Linked DNA regions of Homo sapiens: region 1 is linked to region 2. The links are contacts of gene promoters, found by promoter capture Hi-C in human tissues and cell types (Jung and others, 2019). All regions are on one chromosome and are shown on one strand. Each heading gives the region's core, a stretch centred on a gene start or on the middle of the fragment in contact. The rest is flanking DNA. Distances are from core to core; before and after follow the strand shown.

Region 1 (6,590 bases), core at 3,530-6,029, 46 kb after region 2:
TGATGATACATTATTGAGTGTTATGTTCATTATTAGTGTTAGCTAGTTTTTGTTTGTGATTATCTCAGTGATCTCTGAGAAGGAAATCACAGGGGGAAGGGGACTCAGTCTTTATCCTCTAGGTCCTCATGGCCTGGTGGGTGACAGAAGTAGACACACAAGTAAGAACAACTCTCAGAGGAGGATAGAAAATTCCTCTTGTGCACACAAAAGTGCAATAAGACCCCAAATTCAAAAGGGTCACACCTGGCTGGCTACATGGACCAGAGAGGGATTCATAGACAGGGTTTGTGTAGACCTAAACCTGAGAAGCAGTAGCATTTGTGGAGGTAAAGATTTAGGGTGGAGTGGGCATCTACAGGTAAACATTTGAGAAAGAATTATGTGAGCCTGGACAGTTCTGTGTCTGGAGAACATCAAAGAGTCCAGTTTCTCTAGAGGCCAGGCTATGTCATGGCAAAAGCAAGAGTGCAGAGACAGAAAGCAAGATGCCAATGCTTCATGTGGCAGAGGATATGGGTTTCTAAACATTTTAGAACCAGAGAAACAAAATCTGAGGGTGGAGACCAGCAAACCAGTGAAGACTTCACTGTGGATGTCCACATCCGACCTCTCTAGGGAAGATCCAGCAATGTGGCAGCTGAGAAATAAAGTGAGTCTTCTCTTTCATTGATTGCAGATAGTTCTGAGAAGAAAAAGCAGGTTCTCACACTCTTCTATCATGTTTCAAAGCCAATTACCACCTTATTTTTTTCTATAAAATACAGAATCAGCATGACTATGTAATCACATGAGGTTTATAAAGGGTGTGGCACAATGTCCAATGCAGAACAGCTGCTGACAGACACCTGGCAGTGGTGCTGAAGATGATGATGGTGATGAGAATGATATGCTGGGGATGAAAATGGTGATGGTGGTGGTGGTTTTGAAGATGATGATGATGGTATGGTGGTAATGCTGGTAATGGTAATGATGGTGATGGTGTTGATGATGATAGTGGTGCTCATGATGTGTATAATGATGATGAGTATACTGATGGTGATGGTGGTAATGGAGATGGTGATGTTGATGACAGCAGTAATGCTGGTATTGTTAATGGTGATGGTGATTGTGATAATAGTGATGATGTTGGTGGTGGTGGTGGTGGTTATAATGGTGGTGATGATGGTAGCTCTTGTAGTAATAGTAGTGGTGATGGTAATAGTGGTGAAGTTGGTAATAGTGATGGTAGTAATAGTGGTGGTGGTGATGGTGATGATGGCAGAGATGGTGGTATTGATAATGATGGTGGTGGTGATGATAGTGATGATGTTGATAATAGTGTTGGTGGTAATGATGGTAGTGATGGTGGGTATTATGGTGGTACTGGTGTTGATGGTGATGGTCTTGGTGGTGGCAGTAATGGTGACGGTGATGATAATAGTGATGGTGATGGTAGTGATGATTATGATGATGGTGGTGATGATGGTGATGACCATGATGTTGAGGTTATGGTGATGGTGATGATGATGGTGATGGTGATGATGCTGGTGATGATGATAGTGATCATGGGAGTGGTATTGATGGTGATAGTGTTAAAGATAATGGTGATGGTGGTAGTGATGATTGTGGGGATGGTGGTGGTGATGCTGGTGATAGTGATGGTGGTTATGGAAGTGGCAATAGTTGTGAAGATTATGGTGATATTGATGATATAGTGGCGATGGTGGTGATATGATATTTGATGTGAAAAGATAAAGCTCTTTGGTGCAGAATATAAGCACGAAGGCAGAGCAGCTATCGTTAAGGTTTTCCTCTGTTTGCAGGCTCATCAGATCTGGACTCAGGTGAATCTGGTCTTCAGACACCTCGCCTTGCATGGGAAACCGTTTTTCAGTAATGGATCATGTGTTCTTCTTAACCACAGCAGCAAACGTGGTTTTTCCATGGTATTCATGCCTCCGACTGACTAAGTTGACCATGAAAAAGAAGGAGATGGGTAGTTTTAGAAAGGGGCAGGAAGTAAGAGAGGGAGCACCAGGAAAGGGGTGAGGAGGAAGAGAGTGGAAGAGAGGATAGAAACCAGACTTGTCCACGGGGTGTCCACACGTTCATTGTCACCTGCCTTCAGAAGGTCCCTGTCTTCTGAGAGAGTCAGCTCTGGGCCTGTCTCTCCTTCCTGGAAATATCCAGCAAGGGCCCTGGGGAGAGCTACAGGAACAGAAGACTGTGCCATCTACTGGTCATCGCTCTGATCAATAAAACCCCACATGCCCAGGTAGCCCAGGTAGCCCAGGGCAGCGAGGACAGAGCCAAGCAGACGGGCCTCTGCAGAACCCGTACGGCACTCAGGGAATGCTTAGTTTACAAAACTCCTTTCTCCAAGGCAGATGCTATGACAACCCCAGGGTTACCTTCAGAGCCTGCTCCGCAGGGTGAGGCTGGAGTAGAGGCACCCAAAGGGCTGGTCATCCATGGGTGAGTGCTTCCCTCTGGTGGTCACTGTGGTGAAGTGGAGCATGCAGAACCTAGAGGTTCTCTGCAAACTCATGAACTGAGAAGGATTTACAGGGCAGGTGGCTGCAGGCACAGGAATTGCCCTGTGGCTTTGTGGTTTATCTGCCACATTTGAGCATTTTCCTTGTGATGTGTTCATCTTCACATGTGATGTTTCAGCATATCATCCCCTCCTTTATCATGGGGTGAGGAGGTTGCCAACTCTGCAAGCCTCTTCCCACTTAGTTCCCATTGGATACTCTCCATATCTTAGGGCCCCAAAGCCCACCATTCCTGCCAACTCTGACACAGCTCAGGCATCCTTCTCAGACACCCCAAATGGCATGCACACCTGTGCATAAACACATTCATAAACTTCAGAGTACAATGGAGTTTCTACAAGCTCTCGATGAACACTCATATAAGTGACTTTGTTCTGGAGACCAGCCATTGTCAGTTCCTTTCCTCTTGCCTGCCCCTGAGTGCAAACAGTGAAAGTATCAGGCAATGGACTTCCAAGCCTTCCTCACCCCTGGGGAAATGGAGCTCAGGTCCAGCCAGCAACTGCTAAGCACTCGGCCGGGTTGCTACTAAGAGAGTATCTGCTGGATAAACAGAGAAAAGCCCCCTGAGGAGAGTTCTCTCTCTCTCTTTCTCTCTTTCTCTCTCTCTACCTCTATCTCTCTGTCTCTTTCTCTCTCTCTCCCTCAACCCTCCTCTCACGCCCTGTGACCTCCGCCTGCTCCTACTCCTCACCTTTCAGGCTGTAGTGTGGGACAGGATGTCTAGGGCTATGGTGTCCACCTTTCACTCATGAACTGTGTGCCCAAGAACAAAAGCCCAAGGAATGATGGAGAAGATGGAAGGAAACCACCTGGGCCCCTGCTGAGGATGCTGCAACTCTGTGAACACCATTCCCACAGCCTTTGTTAAATAACAAGTGTCATCGTGGGAGAGGCGGCAAGTGTTTCTCAGGACTCCTGCTACCTGCGGCCAGGACGCTCCTAGGAGTGATGGAGCTGACACATCACTTAGTGTCAGTCCCAGAGCCAGGGTGGCAAATGAAGCTTACTGTGTGACAAGAACATAATTAAGCTGAAAATTACATGACCTGACATCTTATCCTCAACCTACCTCCTACTTATTTTCTTAAGAGTAAAAAGGGTTTCTGGTACCTGCCCAACCTTCCTCAACAGCTAGATCAAATGAAATTATATGAGTGAAAATATTTCACCAAGTCCAATACAGATGGATACTTTGGTTTGCATTTCACTAGGGATGAAGAGGGGGAAAAAAGACCCAGCTGAGTAAGCGATTTTTGGGAACAAGGAACTTTCCAGATGAAGCATTGGTTTTCTTCAGCAGGTCTCATGGGTGTGAGAACATTGAGATCATCTATTGAAGGGAGATATCCAATCTCCTAGACAAAAATTTTCCAAACTTTCACAAACCTAACACCCACTGTGGTTAAAAGGCAAGATATTTGTGGTGTGGGTCCTGACTCCACCATCTCTTGGTTAGGGTTCCTGGGAACCAACTCAGATGGAGATTCACAGGCAAGAGGCTCACTGAGGCATGTGCTGGGAAGGCAGGGGCCCTCCCAACACTTTGAGAGGCCGAGGCGGGCAGATGACGAGGTCAAAAGTTTGAGACCAGCTTGACCAAAATGGTGAAACTCCGTCTCTACTAAAAAAAAAAAAAATACAAAAATTAGCCAGGCCTCATGGCACGTGCCTGTAATCCCAGCTACTCGGGAGGCTGAGGCAGGAGAATCACTTGAACCCAGGAGGTGGAGGCTGCAGTGAGCCAAGATCATGCCATTGCACTCCAGCCTGGGCAACAGAGTGAGACTCCATCTCAAAAAAAGTGGGCATAGAATGCCTAGGAATACAATTTACAAGGCAAGCAAAGGACCTCTTCAAGGAGAACTACAAACAGCTGCTCAAGGAAATAAGGCAGGACACAAACAAATGGAAAAAAATTCATTCTCATGAATAGGAAGGATCAATATCATGAAAATGGCCATACTGCCCAAAGTAATTTATAGATTCAATGCTATTCCCATCAAGCTATCATATTGATTTTCTTTGCAGAATTACAAAAAAAAACTACTTTAAATTTCATATGAAATCAAAAAAAGATCCCATATAGCCAAGCTAATACTAAGCAAAAAGAACAAAGCTGCAGACATCATGCTACCTGACTTCAAACTACACTACAAGGCTGCAGTAACTAAAACAGCATGGTACTGGTACCAAAACAGAGATATAGACCAAGGGAACAGAACAGAGGCCTCAGAAATAACATCAAACATCTACAACCATCTGATCTTTGACAAATCTGACAAAAACAAGCAATGGGAAAGGATTCCCTATTTAATAAATGGTGCTGGGAAAACCGGTTAGCCATATGCAGAAAACAGAAACTGGGCCCCTTCCTTATATCTTATACAAAAATTAACTCAAGATGGATTAAAGACTTAAATGTAACACCTAAAACCATAAAAACCCTAGAAGAAAACCTAGGCAATAGCATTGAGGACATAGGCATGGGCAAAAACTTCATGACTAAAATATCAAAAGGAATTGCAACAAAAGTCAAAATTGACAAATGGGATCTATTTAAACTAAAGAGCTTCTGCACACCAAAAGAAACTATCATTGGAGTAAACAGGCAACCTACAGAAAGGGAGAACATTTTTGCAATCTATCCATCTGACAAAGGTCTAATATCCAGACCTTTGCACAAAAAGTGCACAAAGGATATGAAGAGACACGTCTCAAGACATTTATGCAACCAATAAACACATGAAAAAAAGCTCATCATCATTGGTCATTAGAGAAATGCAAATCAAAACCACAATGAGATACCATCTCATGCCAATTAGAATGGCAATCATTAATAAGTCAGGAAACAACAGATGCTGGCGAGGCTGTGGAGAAATAGGAAGGCTTTTACACTGTTGGTGGGAATGTAAATTACTTCAACCATTGTGGAAGACAGTGTGGTGATTCCTCAAGGATCTAAAACCAGAAATGCCATTTGACCCAGCAATCCCATTACTGGGTATATATCCAAAGGATTATAAACCATTCTACTACAAAGACACATGCACACATATGTTTATTGCAACACTATTTACGATAGCAAAGACTTGGAACCCAAATGCCCATCAGTGATAGACTGGATAAAGAAAATGTGGCACATACACTATGCAGCCATAGAAGAGAATGCATTCATGTCCTTTGCAGGGACATAGATTAAGCTGGAAACCATCATTCTCAGCAAACTAACACAGGAACAGAAAAACAAACACCACATGTTCTCACTCATAAGTGGCAGTTGACCAGTGAGAACACATGGACACAGGGAGGGGAAAATCACATATCGGGGCCTGTCAGAGACTGGGGGACAAGTGGAGGGAAAGCATTAAGACAAACACCTAATGCATGTGGGGCTTAAAACCTAGATGACAGGTTGATAGGTGCAGCAAACCACCATGGCACATGTACACCTATGTAACAAACCTGCACATTCTGCACATGTATTCCAGAACTTAAAGTAAAATTTTTAAAAGTGGGCATAGCATATAAACAGATATTTTTCAAAAGAAGACATACAAGTGGCAAACATGCTTGTGAAAAAATGCTCAACATGACTAAATATCTGAGAAATGCAAATTGAAACCACAATGAAATATCATTGTACACCAGGGAGAAAGGCTGTTTTTAAATGTCAAAAGACAGCAGAGTGCAGTGGTTCATGTCTATAATCACAGCACTTTGAGAGACCAAAATGGGAGGATTGCTTGGGGCCAGGATTTCAAGACCAGCCTGGACAAAATAGTGAAACCCTGTCTCTACAAAAAATAAAAATGTCTTGCCATGGGCCTGTAGTACTAGCTACTCAGGAGGCTGAGGCAGGTGGATCATTTGAGCTCAGGAGTTTGAGGCTATAGTTAGGTATGATCGTGCCACTGCCTTTCTGCCCAGGTAAGAGTGTGAGATCCTGTCTCAAAAGAAAGTCAAAAAACAACAGACATTGGAGAAGATGTGGGGAAAAGAAAAAAATTATGCACTGTTGGTGGAAGTGTACATTAGTGCAACCTCTATAGA
Region 2 (6,782 bases), core at 4,283-6,782:
CCACAGTCACTGCACTTTGCTAAAGGAATTGATATTTAAGGTTACACAAACAGTGACAGGGAAGTCCCAGCAGTGACCCAAATAGGATAAGAAAGTCTGACCACCCAGAGATGTCAAGGAGATGACTCACCTCCTCAGAGTCATCTGTTTTCCTCGTGGCCAGGCCTCTGCAGACTGCAGCCCAGGGAGTCAGATGGATCCCTGGCTGCAGCAGCCAGCAGCCTGAGTTCCAGAGGCCGCCCCTACTCCCCTCCATTCATATGTGGTTCTTCAGTCAGTGAATCTGCACTGACAAATCCTTTTTTTGAAAAATAAATGTTAACTTCCACTCCAGAACCATGAATACCGTTCAGATGCTGGTCCCTGAGAGGAAGGATTCTCTTTCTCCCCATGGAGTGCAAAACAATCAGACCTGACACTGGGCTCTGCCCTCTCTCGCCTTTCCTAGCTGGGGCTACCAGCAGGCTTCCCCATGAGTATCACAGTTTCCTAATGATGTGGAAGAGCCAAATGTGATACCAACATGGGCCCATAGTTTAGAAGCATCCACATGTCCTAGCAGAGCCAAATGTGTTACCAATATTGGCCCATAGTTTAGGACCTTCCACATGTCCTAGCAGAGCCAAATGTGTTACCAACATGGGCCCATAGTTTAGAAGCTTCCACATGTCCTAGCAGAGCCAAATGTGTTACCAACATGGGCCCATAGTTTAGAAGCATCCACATGTTCTAGCAGAGACAAATGTGTTACCAACATTGGCTCATAGTTTAGAAGCATCCACGTGTCCACCATGTTTGAGGAGAGGGAGAAAAGAAGGAGGGATAGAGTGTGAAAGAGACAAGCTTGACCCCAGAGAATTCCAGGCACTCCGTAAAAGGGGCTTCTGGGCTTCCCATTTGAGAAGCCACCAAATCCTGTGGCTGTTCAGTCTCAGCTCCTACCATAGATCAAAGTGTTAGTTGCTCAAAACCCAGATGTGCAGAATCTCAACTCTTGGCCAGGTTGTCCTCACCACCTGCACCTGTAGGTGATGCTTTCTGTGTTTGGTCATTTGTTTATTGTAGTATTGCTTAGTGTTCACTTATTATTCATCATTTATTGCAGAGAACTTCTACCACTCACCTAACTTCTCATCCTGCTAATTCAGATAATAGGATCAGTAGTCACCCATGCAGCCTAGGGGAACAGAGCTTTCTCTTTCATCACCTAGCAGAAGGAAAACTTGCCCCCTCCTGGGCAGCTAGACTCCTCCAGGTTACATGGGTGCTGGAGGCCCCAGGCTTGTTCCTCAGTCCATGGTTGCTATCTGGCCCCCTCCTAGTGTGTCCTTAAAACTGTGGACTATAGAAATCAGGGAACAAAATGTTCTGTCATTTTTTTTGAGATGGGGGTTTCACTGTGTTTCACAGGCTGGAATTGAACTCCTGGATTCAAGGAATCTTCCTGACTCACTCTCCTAATTAGCTAGGATTACAGGTGCACCACCTCACCTGGCTATTCCATCATTTTCAAACATGTTGCTACATCACTGGTAAAGTCTGCTCATCTCTGCTGGTCTGAACTCCCAGACAATACGCTTTAAAAAGTAGCCTCTTTCTCCACACGCACAACAGACACAACATTTGCCTAAGGTCATCAAACATCTGGAGCAGCTGGCCAGCTACCCCCACCTGCCACTTCCTATCACTCCATACTGGACATCGCACTTGTACCTCCTCAGAAAAGCAACATACATTGGTATCTTTCCTACTGAGATTAGAGAGGTTGCTGCATCAGGACAGCTGACCCTCCCTGCAGTGCATGCCAGCATCCTGACACAAGATGACCACTGGTGGTGTCATCACATACACGGCACAGATCAGCACTTTGGCCTCCCTCCCTCACACTCCACCCACCAGCAAATTCTCACTATTTGGGTTACCTGTTTGGGAAAAGAAAGAGAGATCAGACTGTTACTGTGTCTATGTAGAAATGGAAGACATAAGAGACTCCATTTTGTAAAAGACCTGTACTTTAAATAATTGCTTTGCTGAGATGTTCTTAATTTTGTAGCTTTGCCCCAGGCACTTTGACCCAACCAGGAGCTCACAAAAACATGTGTTGTATAAAATCAAGGTTTAAGGGATCTAGGGCTGTGCAGGATGTGCCTTGTTAACAAAATGTTTACAAGCAGTATACTTGATAAAGGCCGTCGTCATTCTCTAGTCTCAATAAACCAGGGGCACAATGCACTGCGGAAGGCTGCAGGGACCTCTGCCCTTGAAAGCAGGGTATTGTCCACGGTTTCTCCCCATGTGATAGTCTGAAATATGGCCTGGTGGGATGAGAAAGACCTGACTGTCCCCCAGCCCGACACCTGTAAAGGGTCTGTGCTGAGGTGGATTAGTAAAAGAGGAAAGCCTCTTGCAGTTGAGATAGAGGAAGGCCACTATCTCCTGCCTGCCCCTGGGAACTGTATGTCTCAGTATGAAACCCGATTGTACATTTGTTCAATTCTGAGATGAGAGAAAAACTGCCCTATGGTGGGAGGCGAGACATGTTTGCAGCAATACTGCCTTGTAATTCTTTACTCCACTGAGATGTTTGGGTGGAGAGAAACATAAATCTGGCTTACGTGCATGTCCAGTCATAGTACCTTCCCTTGAACTTAATTATGACGTAGATTCTATTGCTCACATGTTTGTTGCTGACCTTCTCCTTATTATCACCCTGCCCTCCTGCTATGTTCCTTTTTGGTGAAATAATGAAGATAATAATCAATAAAAACTGAGGGAACTCAGACCGGTGCCGGTGCAGGTCCTTGGTATGCTGAGCGCCGGTCCCCTGGGCCCACTGTTGTTTCTCTATACTTTGTCTCTGTGTCTTATTTCTTTTCTCAGCCTCTCATCCCACCTGACTAGAAATACCCACAGGTGTGGAGGGGCAGGCCACCCCTTCAACCTGCATCTCCTTTCCAGTGATAAAAAAAAATGAGAGGATTTCTTGACCTTCAGCTTATCCTCTGCACAGCAGCTCTTCCTGAGTCTGGACTCCCAGCTATCCCAGGAAGGTGGGAGCCACAGAGGAGAACTAAGTCCTACCCTTTGGAGATGACCACTCTGCTCACAAACACCTGGTAAGGGACTTCCCTCTCTCTCCCTTCTCTGGGAATTTATCCCCATTCCCTGTCTAACTAGGAGCCATCCTGCGCAGCCCTGTTTGAAGACCTTCCCTCCATCACCCAGCGGTAAACACCATCCCTGGGACACCTGCTGTATCTGCTGGGATGCATGGTTTTTCTAGGTGTGCTGGATTGACAGTGGTGTGCAATGGTCACTGGGCCTTGGATAACAAGGTCCCCTGTCCTAATACTGAACATGAACACCAATGAGTAATATTGTTCCTGCTGCCGGGTCCTGCTGATGCAGCCCCAGCCACGGCTGAGACCCAGGATCCCAGCAGCTCTGGGTTGACTCTGTCTGACCCTCACCTCCACTACTCCCAGGAGAGTCCTCTGGATGCCATGCAAAGGCCCAGGGTTTCCTGGTGTTTCTCACCAAGCCTTCCACCTCACCACAAGGGCATTTGCCACAGGGTCACCTTCAGGCATGGAGGGTTGGGTTGAGAGAACAAAGGGAGCAGCTGTCTGTTCAGGGCCTCCTTCCATCCTCCCCAATCCTGGAGCCACATTCCAGCACAGGCCCACAGCATCCCAAGCTGGAGACTTTGTCACCCCACAGAGCACTGTGGTGATTAGGTCCTCTCAGTCTGTGGAGAAGGAGAACTCCCAATCCTGGCAATGAAGCAACTTGGGGGCCACTGGAAAGCCACGCTGAGCAAAGGACGAAGACACATCTGGGATTGCTCTGCAGGATTCCATTCCTGGGAATCTCAAGGGCAGGTGACAAAGGAGTCTACAGGACTGGACAGGGGCTGCCAGGGTGGGGTGGGCACGAGGATGAGCTGCAGAGGCAGGAGGACACCGTCTGGGGCAAGGCAGATGTCAGAGGTCTGGACAAAGTGGTAATACAGGTGTATGTATTTACAAAATCTTCCAGGTGGGCACATACTATTAGGCATCTTACTGTATGTAAATTCTACCTCCTTCAAGGCAATTTTTAAAATATCAGGTGGGTCTTCCAAGCAGTGCATAGAGGAAAGAAGCTGGAAGCATGGCTGCCTAGGAGAGAAGCAAGTGAGGCCTGTGGGCTCCCACATTCATCCCTTGGCTTCTGCTCCCTCTTCTGACACCCCCACTGCCTGCCAGGTGTCTCCCTGCACCTTGTGGGCCCCACCCACAGTTACCATGAGACACCAGGTCATTCCCTTCCCTGCTCACATCCCCTCCAGGAGCTTCCTCTTCCTGGAGCAGGCATGTCCCAATCCCACCTCAGGGCCTTTGCACTGGCTGTTCCCCAATGCCTGGGGCTTCTCAACCTCTCCAGTCTCATAGAGACCACCCTGACCAGGGTCCAGTGGTCTCTCTCTAGCCCCTGTTCTATTTCACTTCCAACAGAGTGAGTATAACTCCCTGATCCTAATTGTTGACCATAACCTATCATCCCCTACACACACTGTGTAGGAACGGACTGTACAGTTTCATAGCCACCTGCCACATGTGCCACGGGACACTTGAAATGGGGCCAGTCCAAAATGACTCCCAGGCTAAGTGTAAAAAATACACAGCGAATTTCAAAGATTTACAAAACCCCTCCAACAAAAAAAAAATCTCATTAATAATAGTTCCTATTAGCTGAAATAATATTGTGGCTGTATTAGGTTAGATAAATATTTTAAACATTACTTTCACCCATTTTTTCTCATCTTTTAAAATGCATCTACTACACATTTTCATATGCTCGTGGGTTCATGTCACATCTCTGTGGGCAGCAGCTCTGCAATGTCACCTCTATGGCTCATCATCCAGGTTCAGTATTCAAGCCCTAGACCTCCTGGCACGGGGAGTAGCTGGTGATAAGTTTTTTTATTGAATAATGAGTTATGAAAAGAGAACCCAGTGACCTTTTCAAAAAAGGTTAATTCCCTTGAATTTGGCAAAGAAATTCTCCATAATAGGGTGTGGACAGGGTCTTCTGGAACCTTCTGAAATAACCTCCCTGTTCCAGAGATTCAGAGACCGTGACCAAGTGCTCCTGGATGCCTCTGATATCTGAAGACCCCGGAGGCCAAGCCCTGTATTTTTCACTTTTCTGAGCAAACAGGAGGTCACATTGTTTTCATAGCCAAAGGAGAAGTGTCATCTCTGTGGAGACCTGGTGACTCAAGCTTGGGAGCACTGGGGAAGAGAGGCATGGCTCGGGGAGGCTGCAGTGAGGACAGGAGTGGGGAGGAGGGGTAGATAGAGGAGGAGGCCTGGGAGGGGCAGGGAGAACTTAGGCAGGGAGGGATCTTGTGGTTTCTGAGGAGTGAAAAGAGAGATGGAGAAAGAGGGAATGAGCAGAAAGAGGAGGAGGAGTCAGGGGCAGGTCATGGAGGGGGGTGGGGCTGAGCTGCCAAAGCAGGATAAATGCACAGCTGCCTGCTGGTCTGGGATCCCCGCCTCAGGCTCTCAACCTCCTCTCCTGCAGCTCCAGCTCTGTGCTCTGCCTCCGAGGAGACCATGGCCTGGCCCCTGTGCACCCTGCTGCTCCTGCTGGCCACCCAGGCTGTGGCCCTGGCCTGGAGCCCCCAGGAGGAGGACAGGATAATCGAGGGTGGCATCTATGATGCAGACCTCAATGATGAGCGGGTACAGCGTGCCCTTCACTTTGTCATCAGCGAGTATAACAAGGCCACTGAAGATGAGTACTACAGACGCCTGCTGCGGGTGCTACGAGCCAGGGAGCAGGTGGGTGCTGCCTCCACCTGAGGGGTCCTGAGTCCCAGCCTTGTTTGTTGCCCGATCCATAAGAGCATTCGCAGCACATCAACACTGATACATTCATGATCTAATGCTCAGATTCATTCAGCTTTCCCTGACTCTCTGCTTATGGCCTTCATGCCTAAGCATGCTCCCGGGGGATGGAGACTATGCTGACTCTGGATGGGCTTGATGCTGCTCAGGATGAGATCCAGGCCATGAGGCTCACCCTCCTCCCTGAGTCCTCTCCTCAGGGGCCACACAGGAACTTCGCTTCCTGTTCTGCAGAGCCCTACTTCACTCCCCAAGTCACACCCGTGGGTACAGCCCTTTAGGGCTAATGGCCTTCACCCTCAGGCCGGCTGACCACCCCCTACAGCCCAGGGCAGCTGAGTCCCTGCTGGGGTGGAGCACGCCTGACCCTGCCTCTATGAGTTGATGCAGAGTTAGACCTCAGCCAGATGAGGACAGCAGTTACCCAGTAGAGAGGAGGAGGTGTCAGGTCAAGAGAGAGCTTCAGAAGGGCTATTGGGCCCAGCTTTACCTGCATCCCATGGCAGAGCAGCAAATAGTGACACAGGCTTTAGAGCTCCTCCACCTTCTCTTGGAAATTCAAAGGAATCCAGACCAGCCCCATTTCTCCTCCTGCAGCTGTCAACTGGGACCCTCACCCTGCACGGGAGGTGCACTCCCTGGTGCCATGGTCCCCGCTTGCCTCCACCTCCCTTTCAAGCATGACAATAACTTGGAGTGAAGCACAGGGCATTGCAGACCATCAGGCCCGGACGCCTATTTTATACATGGGTAAACTGACACCCATGGGTAAAAAGAGTCAGTGTTCCCTTGCCCCTGAGCCACAGGTGGCAGAATTCAATGAATCCTTTTACCCAGCACAGAGAAAACAATATTTAAGAGGGGGCATGAGGCCCAGCACCCTGCCAG

The links. The method cuts DNA at HindIII sites, captures the fragments that hold promoters and counts their contacts. A contact is called where the count stands out against the background at its distance.
Region 1: a fragment that was not itself captured here is called in contact with the fragment with the promoter of CST2 in region 2 in 1 of the 25 tissues and cell types used here (thymus).

Annotation. Positions count from the first base shown.
Region 1 is chr20:23,778,446-23,785,035 of GRCh38, reverse strand. No RefSeq gene overlaps it. Among named protein-coding and RNA genes, the nearest start is that of CST1, 31 kb to the right of the region's middle. The HindIII fragment of the contact is 9,889 bases long and covers 1-6,590 here.
Region 2 is chr20:23,825,479-23,832,260 of GRCh38, reverse strand. It overlaps CST2 (cystatin SA), which reads left to right and starts at 5,532. Exons shown (of 3, transcript NM_001322.3): 1 at 5,532-5,828. The coding sequence starts at 5,601. The HindIII fragment of the contact is 9,318 bases long and covers 3,056-6,782 here.